2 separate regions of the Homo sapiens genome follow, and region 2 is linked to region 1. Evidence: promoter capture Hi-C in human tissues and cell types (Jung and others, 2019). All regions are on one chromosome and are shown on one strand. The core of a region is centred on a gene start or on the middle of the fragment in contact, and the rest is flanking DNA. Distances in the headings are between cores, read along the strand shown.

What was found. The method cuts DNA at HindIII sites, captures the fragments that hold promoters and counts their contacts. A contact is called where the count stands out against the background at its distance.
Region 2: a contact is called between a fragment that was not itself captured here and the fragment with the promoter of PIK3CG in region 1, in 1 of the 25 tissues and cell types used here (bladder).

What each region holds. Positions count from the first base shown.
Region 1 is chr7:106,862,852-106,869,873 of GRCh38, forward strand. It overlaps PIK3CG (phosphatidylinositol-4,5-bisphosphate 3-kinase catalytic subunit gamma), which reads left to right and starts at 2,431. Exons shown (of 11, transcript NM_001282426.2): 1 at 2,431-2,575; 2 at 4,699-6,705. The coding sequence starts at 4,711. RefSeq lists a silencer at 1-7 and an enhancer at 2,503-2,602. The HindIII fragment of the contact is 7,545 bases long and covers 1-4,546 here.
Region 2 is chr7:106,557,719-106,564,740 of GRCh38, forward strand. No RefSeq gene overlaps it. Among named protein-coding and RNA genes, the nearest start is that of CTB-30L5.1, 38 kb to the right of the region's middle. The HindIII fragment of the contact is 4,989 bases long and covers 60-5,048 here.

The DNA.
Region 1 (7,022 bases), core at 1,181-3,680:
CTTGAATCCTGGACCTTCCCCTGCACATTTAAAACAAAAATTTTCAAATCTCACCCAAAGTGAACTCCTCCAGTAAACTGTTGGCTTGCATAATGAAAGTTACATCACACAATTAAACCGCTTGGACTGCATATGCTAACGCATTGCACATGTTATTCTTTCCTCTGCATGTTCTGTCTCTCCAAGTAGACCATAAATAATCTCTCTGAAGGCTGTTGGAAAGAGCCTTCCTCAAAACAAATAATTTTTAATGTCTATTGATCACTGATACTTCCTACTGTGTTCTTATTTTCTAAACTGTTCTATCTTGTCATTGCTGTGACCACTGATATGATATAGAAGGTCAGAGCCTTTGATTGTGTTTTTTTTCCCAACCAAAATGATTTCTGTGTCCACAGATTCACAGAAGGGAAAAATATTATTAAAATGGGATATTAATGAGGACTGAAGGTCTTCTAAATATTCTGGGGATATAAAATATTCTTACTCGTAAAGGATGCCTCTACACGGAGGAAGTATCCACAGAGGAAGGAAATCTTTGCCATTACTTCTTACTGGGAACATTTACTACAGATAGTCAAATTTTAGTGGCTATATTAAGATTTGGGGAAGAGCAGGGTACTTTTAATCTCAAGCCACCAATAAACCTGACATATTTGCCAGTTTAGTCATAAAACAGAAAATCCTTTGCCTAATCAAACTTAGCTTAATAGTTCCTTCAGAAGCAGGCAGGGCCAAGAGGCTGAGTCTCGTGTTTCTGGAATAATGTGGCATGTGTGTGTGTATGTGCAGTGCCAGATTGGGACTTGGCCCCCTGGAAGTGACTGAGCCAGGACAGGGAAGGGATCTATTGAATGGTCTGGGGAACAGGGCTGGCCAAGCTCATGGTCCCTCTGAGGTCAGCCCTCCCACCCTCAAACCTCCTCCCACTCCACCCACCCCCAGGAACCCTCCCACACACTCTGGGTAAAACACAGCTTGGCAAGCTCTCACATCATGGCTTGGTGGCTACAGTGTGTTGATCTTCCCTCAGGACCAACCAAGAAAGCTAGCCTTGGTGCTTCTAAAGCTGCCAGCCTCCTAAGGGAGTATTCCTATATAGGAATATACTTTGAGAAGCTGATAAGACCCCTCTAAATATTTGGGAGGCAGCCTTTGAATTAAATTATTTGCCTGCTGATGTCAACTATTAGAGTGCTATTTAAAAGTTAAAACCCAAGAGGCATATGTAAAAGGAAATAAGTCAAATCAATCATTTATCTCAATATCAGAGTAATTCAGAGGAACTCTTAATTACATACCTCCAAGAGACTTGTGAGGTCAACTCCATTCTATCTGCTGCCCTTGAAGCTCAGCTGGAGTCCCTCAACACCCCGATTGGAGGATGAACTCTAGCATAGGGAATTCTGAGATGGAGGGAGGGGGCGCTGGTTCAGGATGCTTGGAGGTTCTAGAAAGAACTGAGGTCACCTGGAAGATACAACGCTACTCTAAAAATGATTCAGGATGGCTTTTCTATGCATTCTCTACTCCCATAGGAATCAGGGGCCACCTCCCAGGATGGAATCTGCCTGATGCTGTAACAGTGTTCAGCTCCCCAATTTCCCCATGATAACAGGCAACCTCCTTCTGTTTTGTCTACAGTTAATTAATCAGTCATTGCTGACAGTAAGGCTCCATCCTCAACACAGGATATTTTCTGAAGCATTAATTTTTGTTTCAATAGTTGATCCTTGTTTGGAATATAATGTGTTACAATGTAGTGGTACTTAGTATTAAAATCAAAATACCTTTTTATTCATCTTTCAATTTTAATACTTTTAGCATTTCAACCATTATTTGAAGGGTTACTTACTGCAGTATGTCACATTTATATACACACATGCACATGCTGCAGTGCTTTCAGTTTGAGCCAGTGATATTTTAGGCCCCAAATGCTCTGAAAAAATAGAGAAAGCTCTCACCAAGCTAAGGAAGTGAGCTTGCAGACCATGCCTTTAAAAATTTTCAGCTTGATAACTTAGTCCTCAAGATGACTAGGTTTCTCTTCCCCCACCCCTCAGTTAGCATGTGCGAACAAGGATTCTTTTGAATTCCCAGGAGGGGAATGAGTTTAATTTGACTGGTAAAAGTCTTCCTAATAGGATACCTAATACTGTGGCTCTTAGAACTAGCTACAAAGATATTTCATATGTTTATGTCTCATAATGGGTAATTTTGGTTTGGATTTATGTCATTTTGTCTCAGTATCACAATTTTTGAAAAATTAGTTCAAAGAGAAAAAAAAAAGAAAAGAAAAACCATGGTAAACATTGCTCAGTCTCATACTCCTACCCTCTCTATGCTAAAACAGGAAATGCATTTCTGACACTTTTAAAATGAGCAATCACACGTATAATCAACTTGGTTAAAACTTCCTTCCTGGTAACTGCAACACTTCCTCTGCATCTGGATATGAAGGGAGCCCCAGAAAAGCGGAAGAATTTAGACGCACACTGGGTAGGTTTGAATTTGTTTTGTTTTCAAAAATTAAACAAATGATCCTTCAGCATCATCGCCTCCGCTGCTTTATCAGGTATTGCTTCCTTCTATTTTTTGCTCTTTGTGGGGTCTGACTCGGAATAGTGGCACTTCCTTCTCGGCTAGATTATCTGAAACTGTTGTCGGTTCTTGAGATGATACTACCACCGAATGTCTGTGTTTCATTGTCTAGTCCAACCTGTATTGTGGATATCTACAACGTTCCGGCAATAGTTTTGCAGGTGCATCACATTTTTGTTTTTGTTTTGGGAGGAAAAGGGAGGGCACGGCAGCCAGGCTTCATATTCCTACAAGTGCATGCTTCAAGATTACTGTACTTACAGTGTTTCCAACATCTTCTCATAAAAGGGGAAAGCTTCATAGCCTCAACCATGAAGGAAACCAGTGAGTATTAGTCAGCCTGTTTTCCTCTGCATCTTATAAGATCGTTTGGTATCACTGAGGCAGAAGTTATTGCTGTGTATTTATATGCTGCCTAAATTTGGACATGTTTTATTTCAAGTTAGTGTCAATATCAATGTATCTTACAGTTCTCTTCTTTGTTAGTTATTCTATAATGTAGCAAAAGACCAAAATGAATGTTTTAAGCCACAAGAGACAGTTCTTTGGGACAGTTGGTTTCACTTACTAAGTATAACTTCATATTTTAAGAGAGGGAATATTGGTTTTAAAAGTTAAGCCAAGATTTGAACATAAGTTTGGATCAAATGAAATTTGTCTTTCTTATCTTCTTATCAAGCTCTCCTTTTTGGTATACATCAAATGCTCCACTATTTCTTAAGGAAATAATGTAGTTTTAAGTCTAACATTAGTTATTTAAGAGAGTAAACGATATTTTCTGAAACATTAATTTTTTGTTTCAATAATTGATTCGTTTAGAATATAATGTATTACAATGTAGTGATACTAAACATTGAAAGCAAAATACCTAATCTTTCAGTGTTAATACCTTTCAAATTTCAATTATTATTTGAAGGATTTCCTATTGCAGTATGTCCTATTTATACATAAGTGCTTTGTGAAGGGTAGGTACTTACTGAATTTTGTGGAAAGAGTGAGTAGGTTAATGAGAATAAATTTGTGAATTTGTGTTACAAAAATGAAAATATTAGAGCAAAAAAGAAGTTAAATGATTGGGGGTCTTAACAGAAGGTCACTGGAGTCCAGAAATCCTGCCTTCCATCCTGTAGCTCCTCCATTATTAAGTAGAGACAGATCAAATGAATTTTAATTAATTAATTAAACAATGTTAAAATTACCTAAATGTTCCTATTGGGAGAGTACAGCCTTGGGTGACTCTTCTAAGATACTGCCCTAATATAGCAGTGACAGCCAGAATGCTGACAAATTCCATGATTCAAAATTTTACATATCTGCAAATGGTTTTGACTGTAACTTTACTAATTCCGATATGTTTTAGCTTTACAAATGAAATGACTTGCTTTCCTAATTAGAAAGAAAAAATGAAACCAAGAGGCAGGAAATTTATTAGGGAGTAGATCCTAGGTCCAGGCAGTTTGAAAACAGGCAACGTGAAGCAAGGCTGGGTGAGGTGTCTGGGTTCCAAGAAGTGTGAGACTTAACAAAGAGGAAGTAAGTTAAAGGCCTGTTTTCAAAGTGAGATTTTTTGGCATCTCGTGTTGCACCTTGTAAACTGGGACTTGAACCTTAACTGTACTATTTTAGTAATCTATATGTTTCAGTATGTTTAAGAACAATGTCCATTCTGAGCCATTATAATGTGTCATGCGCTGTGCTGGATGAGTGTTTTACCTACCTCTTTAAAATTTTCAAAGTATACAAAAGTAGAACGACCAATAAGCCCCCATATACCTGTCACCCATATTGAACAAGTATTACTTTATTTAACTCTCCCTCTGGGGCATTCATTACTAACCAGTTTGAGAGATGAGAAACAGGCTCAGAGATTAAGCAGCCCAAATCACCCAGAAAGTAAGTGGCTGGGCCAGGACTCACCGGCCCGACTCCAAAGCCCACGCTCTGAAGGGCTGTAGTGCTTCCAGTTTAAAATACTTGGTCCCTCTGGGTCCCTGTGCACATGTACGCCGCCTATACCTCCTCTTCCCTCATCTCACCAGAAAATATAAGGGGAAAGTGCCTTTCTTGTGACAAATCCCTGTGTCCCTCCGCTCCCAGGTCGCATAGGGCATGGAGCTGGAGAACTATAAACAGCCCGTGGTGCTGAGAGAGGACAACTGCCGAAGGCGCCGGAGGATGAAGCCGCGCAGTGCTGCGGCCAGCCTGTCCTCCATGGAGCTCATCCCCATCGAGTTCGTGCTGCCCACCAGCCAGCGCAAATGCAAGAGCCCCGAAACGGCGCTGCTGCACGTGGCCGGCCACGGCAACGTGGAGCAGATGAAGGCCCAGGTGTGGCTGCGAGCGCTGGAGACCAGCGTGGCGGCGGACTTCTACCACCGGCTGGGACCGCATCACTTCCTCCTGCTCTATCAGAAGAAGGGGCAGTGGTACGAGATCTACGACAAGTACCAGGTGGTGCAGACTCTGGACTGCCTGCGCTACTGGAAGGCCACGCACCGGAGCCCGGGCCAGATCCACCTGGTGCAGCGGCACCCGCCCTCCGAGGAGTCCCAAGCCTTCCAGCGGCAGCTCACGGCGCTGATTGGCTATGACGTCACTGACGTCAGCAACGTGCACGACGATGAGCTGGAGTTCACGCGCCGTGGCTTGGTGACCCCGCGCATGGCGGAGGTGGCCAGCCGCGACCCCAAGCTCTACGCCATGCACCCGTGGGTGACGTCCAAGCCCCTCCCGGAGTACCTGTGGAAGAAGATTGCCAACAACTGCATCTTCATCGTCATTCACCGCAGCACCACCAGCCAGACCATTAAGGTCTCACCCGACGACACCCCCGGCGCCATCCTGCAGAGCTTCTTCACCAAGATGGCCAAGAAGAAATCTCTGATGGATATTCCCGAAAGCCAAAGCGAACAGGATTTTGTGCTGCGCGTCTGTGGCCGGGATGAGTACCTGGTGGGCGAAACGCCCATCAAAAACTTCCAGTGGGTGAGGCACTGCCTCAAGAACGGAGAAGAGATTCACGTGGTACTGGACACGCCTCCAGACCCGGCCCTAGACGAGGTGAGGAAGGAAGAGTGGCCACTGGTGGATGACTGCACGGGAGTCACCGGCTACCATGAGCAGCTTACCATCCACGGCAAGGACCACGAGAGTGTGTTCACCGTGTCCCTGTGGGACTGCGACCGCAAGTTCAGGGTCAAGATCAGAGGCATTGATATCCCCGTCCTGCCTCGGAACACCGACCTCACAGTTTTTGTAGAGGCAAACATCCAGCATGGGCAACAAGTCCTTTGCCAAAGGAGAACCAGCCCCAAACCCTTCACAGAGGAGGTGCTGTGGAATGTGTGGCTTGAGTTCAGTATCAAAATCAAAGACTTGCCCAAAGGGGCTCTACTGAACCTCCAGATCTACTGCGGTAAAGCTCCAGCACTGTCCAGCAAGGCCTCTGCAGAGTCCCCCAGTTCTGAGTCCAAGGGCAAAGTTCAGCTTCTCTATTATGTGAACCTGCTGCTGATAGACCACCGTTTCCTCCTGCGCCGTGGAGAATACGTCCTCCACATGTGGCAGATATCTGGGAAGGGAGAAGACCAAGGAAGCTTCAATGCTGACAAACTCACGTCTGCAACTAACCCAGACAAGGAGAACTCAATGTCCATCTCCATTCTTCTGGACAATTACTGCCACCCGATAGCCCTGCCTAAGCATCAGCCCACCCCTGACCCGGAAGGGGACCGGGTTCGAGCAGAAATGCCCAACCAGCTTCGCAAGCAATTGGAGGCGATCATAGCCACTGATCCACTTAACCCTCTCACAGCAGAGGACAAAGAATTGCTCTGGCATTTTAGATACGAAAGCCTTAAGCACCCAAAAGCATATCCTAAGCTATTTAGTTCAGTGAAATGGGGACAGCAAGAAATTGTGGCCAAAACATACCAATTGTTGGCCAGAAGGGAAGTCTGGGATCAAAGTGCTTTGGATGTTGGGTTAACAATGCAGCTCCTGGACTGCAACTTCTCAGATGAAAATGTAAGAGCCATTGCAGTTCAGAAACTGGAGAGCTTGGAGGACGATGATGTTCTGCATTACCTTCTACAATTGGTCCAGGTAGGGGATGTTGGTGTTATCAATGGAAGCCTTCTCAAAAGGAATTGATTTGCATATGCACAGGCACTCCATTCAGTTGTCATCAAATGCCCTTTGTTCAGAGCTTCATCATCGGCAAAAGTAGATATGATGAAGCTGCCTCAAAAAGTAGTAAACTGTTCCATGTACATTTTTACTGTCTCGGAGGGTTTGCTGACAAGGGTTTTGCAGACATTAGTACTTCACGTTTTTAGGAGAATTGGCCCTGTGGGAATACTTTGTTCTCATTTATTATTTTAATGATAGATTGCACTTACTGAATGCTTTCTTGTGCCAAG
Region 2 (7,022 bases), core at 1,304-3,803, 310 kb before region 1:
CATTCAGGAGCAGGTTGTTCAGTTTCCATGTAGTTGTGCAGTTTTGAGTGAGTTTGTTAATCCTGAGTTCTAATTTGATTGCACTGTGGTCTGAGAGACAGTTTGCTGTGATTTCTTTTATATTTGCTGAGGAGTGTTTTACTACCAATTATGTGGTCAATTTTAGAATAAGTTCAATGTGGTGCTGAGAAGAATGTATATTCTGATGATTTGGGATGTAGAGTTCTGTACGTACCTATTAGGTCTGCTTTGTCCAGAGCAGAGTTCAAGTCCTGGATTTCCTTGTTAACCTTCTTTCTCATTGATCTACTAGTGACAGTGGAGTGTTAAAGGCTCCCATTATTATTGTGTGGGAGTCTAAGTCTCCTTGTAGGTCTCTAGGAACTTGCTTTATGAATCCGGGTGCTCCTGTATTGGGTACATATATATTTAGAATACTTAGCTCTTCTTGGTGAATTGATCCCTTTATCATTATGTAGTGGCCTTCTTGGTCTCTTTTGATCTTTGTTGGTTTAAAGTCTGTTTTATCAGAGACTAGGATTGCAACCCCTGCTTTTTTTTTTTAATTTTTTTTCACTTTCCATTTGCTTGGCAGATCTTCCTCCATCCCTTTATTTTGAGATTATGTACATCTTTGCACATGAGATTGGTCTCCTGAACACAGCACACTGATAGGTCTTGACTCTTTATCCAATTTGCGAGTCTTTGTCTTTCAACTGGGGCATTTAGCCCATTTACATTTAAGGTTAATATTGTTATGTTTGAATTTGATCCTATCATTATGATGTTAGCTGGTTATTTTGCCCATTAATTGATGCAGTTTCTTCATAGCAACGATGGTCTTTACCATTTGGCATGTTTTTGCAGTGGCTGGTACTGGTTATTCCTTTCTATGTTTAGTGCTTCCTTAAGGAGCTCTTGTAAGGCCGTCCTGGTGGTGACAAAAACTCTCAGCATTTGCTTGTCTGTAAAGGATTTTATTTCTCCTTCATTTATGAAGCTTAGTTTGGCTGGATATGAGATTCTGGGTTGAAAATTCCTTTCTTTAAGAATGCTAAATATTGGCCCCCAGTCTCTTCTGGCTTGTAGGGTTTCTGCCGAGAGATCCGCTGTTAGTGTGATGGATTTCCCTTTGTGGGTAACCTGACCTTTCTCTCTGGCTGTCCTTTTTTCCTTCATTCAAACTTGGTGAATCTGACAATTATGTGTCTTGGGGTTGCTCTTCTCAAGGAGTATCTTTGTGTTCTCTGTAATTTCCTGAATTTAATGTTGGCTTGCCTTGCTAGGTTAGGGAAGTTCTCCTGGATAATATCCTTAAGAGTGTTTTCCAGCTTGGTTCCATTCTCCCTGTCACTTTCCGGTACAGCAATCAAACGTAGATTTGGTCTTTTCACATAGTCCCATATTTCTTGGAGGCTTTGTTCGTTTATTTTCATGCTTTTTTTCTTTAATCTTGTCTTCTTGCTTTATTTCATTAATTTGATCTTCAATCACTGATCTTCCACTTGATTGAATTGGCTGTTGAAGCTTGTGCATGCGTCACAAAGTTCTCATGCTGTGGTTTTCAGCTCCATCAGGTCATTTAAGGTCTTCTCTACACTGTTTATTCTAGTTAGCCATTCGTCTAACCTTTTTTCAAGGTTTTTCATCTTCTTTGCGATGGGTTAGAACACACTCCTTTAGCTCAGAGAAGTTTGTTATTACCGACCTTCTGAAGCCTACTTCTGTCAACTCATCAGACTCATTCTCTGTCCAGTTTTGTTCCCTTGCTGGCAAGGAGCTGTGATCCTTTGGAGGAAAAGACCCTGTTTTTTGGAATTGTCAGTTTTTCTGCTCTAGTTTCTCCCCATCTTTGTGGTTTTATCTATCTTTGGTCTTTGATGTTGGTGACCTTCAGATGGGGTCTGTGAGTGCACATCTTTTTTGTTGATGTTGATGCGATTCATTTCTGTTTGTTAGTTTTCCTTCTAAGAGACCCCTCAGCTGCAGGTCTGTTGGAGTTTGCTGGAAGACCCTGTTTGCCTTGATATCACCAGTGGAGACTGCAGAACAGCAAATATTGCTGCCTGATCCTTCCTCTGGAAGCTTCATCCCAGAGGGGTACCCTCCTGTTTGAGGTGTCTGTCGGCTCCTACTGGGAGGTGTTTCCCAGTCAGGTTATACGGTAGTCAGGGACCCACTTGAGGCAGTCTATCTGTTCTTGGAGCTTGAACACCATGCTAAGAGAACCACTGCTCTCTTCAGAACTGTCAGACAGGGACGTTTAAGTCTGCAGAAGTTGTTTTCTGTCTTTTGTTCTACTATGCCCTGCCCCCAGAGATGGCATCTATAGAGGCAGTAGGCCTTGCTGAGCTGTGGTGGGCTCTACCCAGTTTGCACTTCCTGGCCTCTTTGTTTACACTGTGAGCTACTCAAGCCTCAGCAATGGTGGACGCCCCTCACTGCATCAAGCAGCAGCATCGCAGGTCGATCTCAGACTGCTGTGCTAGCAGTGAGCAAGGCTCTGTGGGCGTGGGACCCACCAAGTCAGGCACAGGAGGGTATCTCCTGGTCTGCAGGTTGCTAAGACTGTGGGAAAAGCACAGTATTTGGTCAGCAGTGTACTGTTTCTCCAGGTACAGTCTGTCACAGCTTCCCTTGGCTAGAAAAGGGAAATCCCTCCCCCAACCCCTTGTGCTTCCTGGGTGAGGTGATGCCCCATCCTGCTTCAGCTCGCCCTCCATGGGCTGCACCTACTGTTCAACCAGTCCCAACAAGATGAACCAGGTACCTCAGCTGGAAATGCAGAAATCACTCATCTTCCGCATCGATCTCCCTGGGAGCTGCAGACTGGAGCTGTTCCTATTCAGCCATCTTGGAAGCCATACTACGTTTTGGAAATTCGTGTTATTTTATACTGACAGTGCATCTCACTTTGGACTAGTCACCTTTCAAATGCTCAGTAGCCATGCCCTTTTTCACTTTAGCTGGCTGGCTGAGGTGAAGAAGGGCATGGTTGATTTTGTGGTCTATCAACAACTGCCATAATCTCAAGTGACTCACACAACTGGAAAAAAAAATGGCATTATGTGATATGTGACCCTCATTGCAATTATAGGCAGTGGCTACCATACTGGACAGCATAGAACCTATACCATTACCATTATAGGCTATTCCGAAGGTGGATAAAGGCAGCCATGAGGCCCAGGCTCATGTTCCAGAATCTGTGTCCAGCACAGGTGGCTTTGCCAGGCACACCAGGTAAGTTCTAGGCCAGTGCTTCTCACCCATTTTGAAGTGACACATTGATGTGCCACAATCAGTTCTGAGGTATGCTATAATGTGTTACTAATGGTTTAAGGTACCAACAATTGCAAATATTTAAAGAGGATATTCAACATTATTTATCTCATTCATTTGTATATTGACTTTCCTTTTAAGTGGGAGAGAAAGGGGTGCATTTATGGCCACTGTATGGGAAATTGTGTTTAACCCTTGCACATGACCATGGGGGTATCATCTGTGTGAACACTCATTCATATTTTGTTGCAGAAAAAAGTAGATAAGTACAAAGCTTTCCTAGGAAGTCTCCACACTTGTTTAATACCTTTACACAAGCAGGTTCTTGATGAATATGGGGCAAGCTGGAAAGACCCACTGAGTCATCTAAGCCCTGTTCTGCTGGCTTGCCCCATTTTACTATATTCTGCAATGAAATCACAATGTGCATTGAGCCTGATCCCCAACCTTTCTTCCTGCCAAAAGTGATGGAATTCTCCCTGTTCTTATGGGTACAAAAATTCTAGAAAGAAAGATAGTGGTGGATAGTGGTGCTTCAGATACTTTTTGGATAACATATTTTTTAACATTCAGACTTCTCCATGTCCTTTAATTCTATCTACTCAAAGTGTGGTCCTCAGACCAGAAGCACGAGCGTCATGTGAAAACTCTGTAGAAATGCAAAATTTCAGGTCCCAACCCAGACCTGCTGAATAAAAATATTCACTTTACTAGGATCGCTAGGAAATTCCTGAGCACATTCAAATTGAAAAGCAGTGTCTTAGCCACATTTCCTGGGTGCTCATCTCAGTTTCCTGTGATTTAGGCAGGCCTTTCCCTGGTGCCCATCTGAGTAATGGGCCTGTTTGAGCTATGTCTCTTCTAGAAATTGATATAGTTACCAGAGTATATAACAGGAACAGCACACAAACTTGGGAACCGCAATGGTTAACTTGGTATCAATTTGACTGGGAAATGGGTGCCCAGATTTGGCTCAACATTATTTCTAGGTGTGTCTGTGAGGGTGTTTCCAGAAGAGATGAATGTCTGAATAGGTAGACTGAGTAAACTGAGTAAAGCAAATGGCCCTCCCCAATGTGTGTGGGTATCATTCAATCTATTGAGGATCCAAATAGAACAAAAAGGTGAAGGAAGGAAGGGAGAATTCCCTCCCTCTGATGAACTGCTTGAGCTGGGACATCAGTCTTCTCTTGCCCTCAGACTGGGACTTACACAGTCAGCATTTCTGGTTCCCAGGCCTTCGGACTCAGACTGGAACTACCCCCTCAGGCCTTCCTGGGCCTCCAGCTTGCAGGCAGCAGATCCTGGGACTTAGCCTCCATTGATGGCGTGAGCCAATTCCTTATACTAAATCTCTTTCTAGATATATAAATATATCTTACTGGTCTGTGTGTCTCTAGAAAACCCTAATACAAGAACTATCTCCAGGCTAGAGATTGGTTGGTTCTCTTCATTCATCTCAAGCCTAAGGAAACATCCACATAGAAGTCTCAAGTTGTGGATAGATAGGCCAGCATTTACTGTACTCCCATCTTGGCTAAGGAATAGATCCTGAAAAACTCAGAGGGAAATTCAAGTGCCCTGGCACTTCCAAGCCAGTTTTGCAGCCTGCAGCATTTTGTACTTCTCCACGACTTGCTGACCACCCTCCAGGATCCTAAAGCACCCTTCATGTGTGTTCAGGTTTCTAACTGAACTCAAGACCCCTGAGACTGCTCCTGTTCATATTGACACACAGCTAGACAGTGGGCTACTGGGCTAAAAATGTGACAATTTCTCATTCGAAACCCAATTGAGCCTTTAATCCCAGCACTTTGGGAGGCTAAAGCAGGAGGATCACTTGAGCCCAGGAGGTCAAGGCTGAAGTGAGCTGTGATCATACCACTGCACTGCACTCCAGCCTGAGAGACAGAGTGAGACCTTGTCAAAAGGAAGGAAAGGAAGGGAGGGAGGGGAGAGAGGGGGGAGGGGAGGGAGGGAGTGAGGGAGGGGAGGGAGTGAGGGAGAGAGAGAGGGAGGAAAAGAGGAAGGAAGGAAGGAAGGAAGGAAGGAAGGAAAGAAGGCAGGCAGGCAGGCAGGCCAGCCGGCCTCAATTATTATTTGGAGTCCTCTGAAAGCTGAAGGGAGATAAAAGTCAATGGCACAAGAACACAAACTCACTCTTTTGGGGTAGAACCTGTGTGATAAGCACAGCTGCTGAAGTGACGCAAATCAGTTAAAGAAGGCAATCAGCCAGACCTCAAATCATCACATCTAGTGCTTAAAAGAGAGGACACAGAAAGTACAAAATCTTTCTTGTAGAATGATCAAATAGAAAATTGAAGAAAGTTATTTTAGATTTTTTTAGACATTTATTATTAGAAATAAACACCAATGTAATACTTGTCACAGGTAAAATCTATCCATGGATGCTAAAATTAATGGGTAAGAGTATAAGAAACAGAACGTTTAGATAGTTTCAACGTATCTTTGTGCAAGTATTTGTTAATTACAAGGAGGAAAATATCAATTTTACAGTGGAGAAGCCTGGCAGACACAACCTTAAGGGAGTAATCAAAGTTAGCATCACCAGAAATAAGACGTATTGACTTCATTTGCCCACTGGCACGATGCCAGCATCTCTGAGAACAACACTCAGCCTGTAGAGATTCAACATCAAGCCTAAGGCTTTCCACACACTGGGTGCAACTAGTCTCCTCTTTCTACTGTTTATTTAAGGTTACAGGTTGGATCTAATTTGGACACTTGCCCAGACCATTTTCACAAGAACTCTTAAACCCATCTTCCTCTGGGTCCTTTGAGGAGAACTTTGAGGCTCATAATGAGATCCACCATATTTGGACCCAAAGGGTAGTAGTTGCTACCCTGCATTCCTTAGGGAGAAGCAGAGAACCCACTTAAGAGAATAGCAGCCAAGAGTTAAAAGCACATGACTCACCCCAGAGGCTCTGAAAAATTTCTAAAAAGAGGAGAATCCAGCCCAGATTCTGGTATATAGTGGAGAAAGATGGTGTTAAGAGAGCAGAAACTACCCTTGTGTTGGCATAACCACAACGCACAGAGCAGACTAGGAAGACTCAGGCACAGAGAGCCTCATCAGTGTCATCCAAGAGCAGGCTGACTTTGGTTATTGAATGAGATCAAGAGCTGGGGACTGAGGAGTTGGGTGTGTGTGCCAAGCATGTCACCCCTGCATGTCATGTAGCAAGTGCTCATGGCTTTTGGTACATGAATGAACCAATTAAACTTAATTAAATGATTAAGCTTAATTAAGCTATAATCCAGGCTTTTGATTTCCCAGCAGTGGGTATAGCTCAGGAGATTTGGATTTTATCTATTTAGGGAAACTTCATATAAACGAATGTACAAATCCGATCTTAGCCAACAGAGAGGGTGTTAGTCTGGGGGAAAATACATTTTATTTGGTTGGCCCGCTTGGTCCATCTCATTGTAGCCAAATCCAACAATGAATAATTTTGTTTGGTGGCCCCTGATGCAGTTTTGCATTCCTCCATGGGAGGAATGATGAGTGCTCTCAAATTTTGTCAGGCAGACTGCTGCCTCCCTTTCCGCTCTGGGCACATTCTCACAAACTCAAGGGACCTGGAGCATCAGGGCTTCTCCTGGCTTGGTGTTAAAGGTACACTGACACATGCTATCTTTGACCCTTCACACAGGACTCCATGGGACACCAGTCTTCTATAGTGCAATTCACTTGTCTTGACCTTCTTGCTCATGCAATT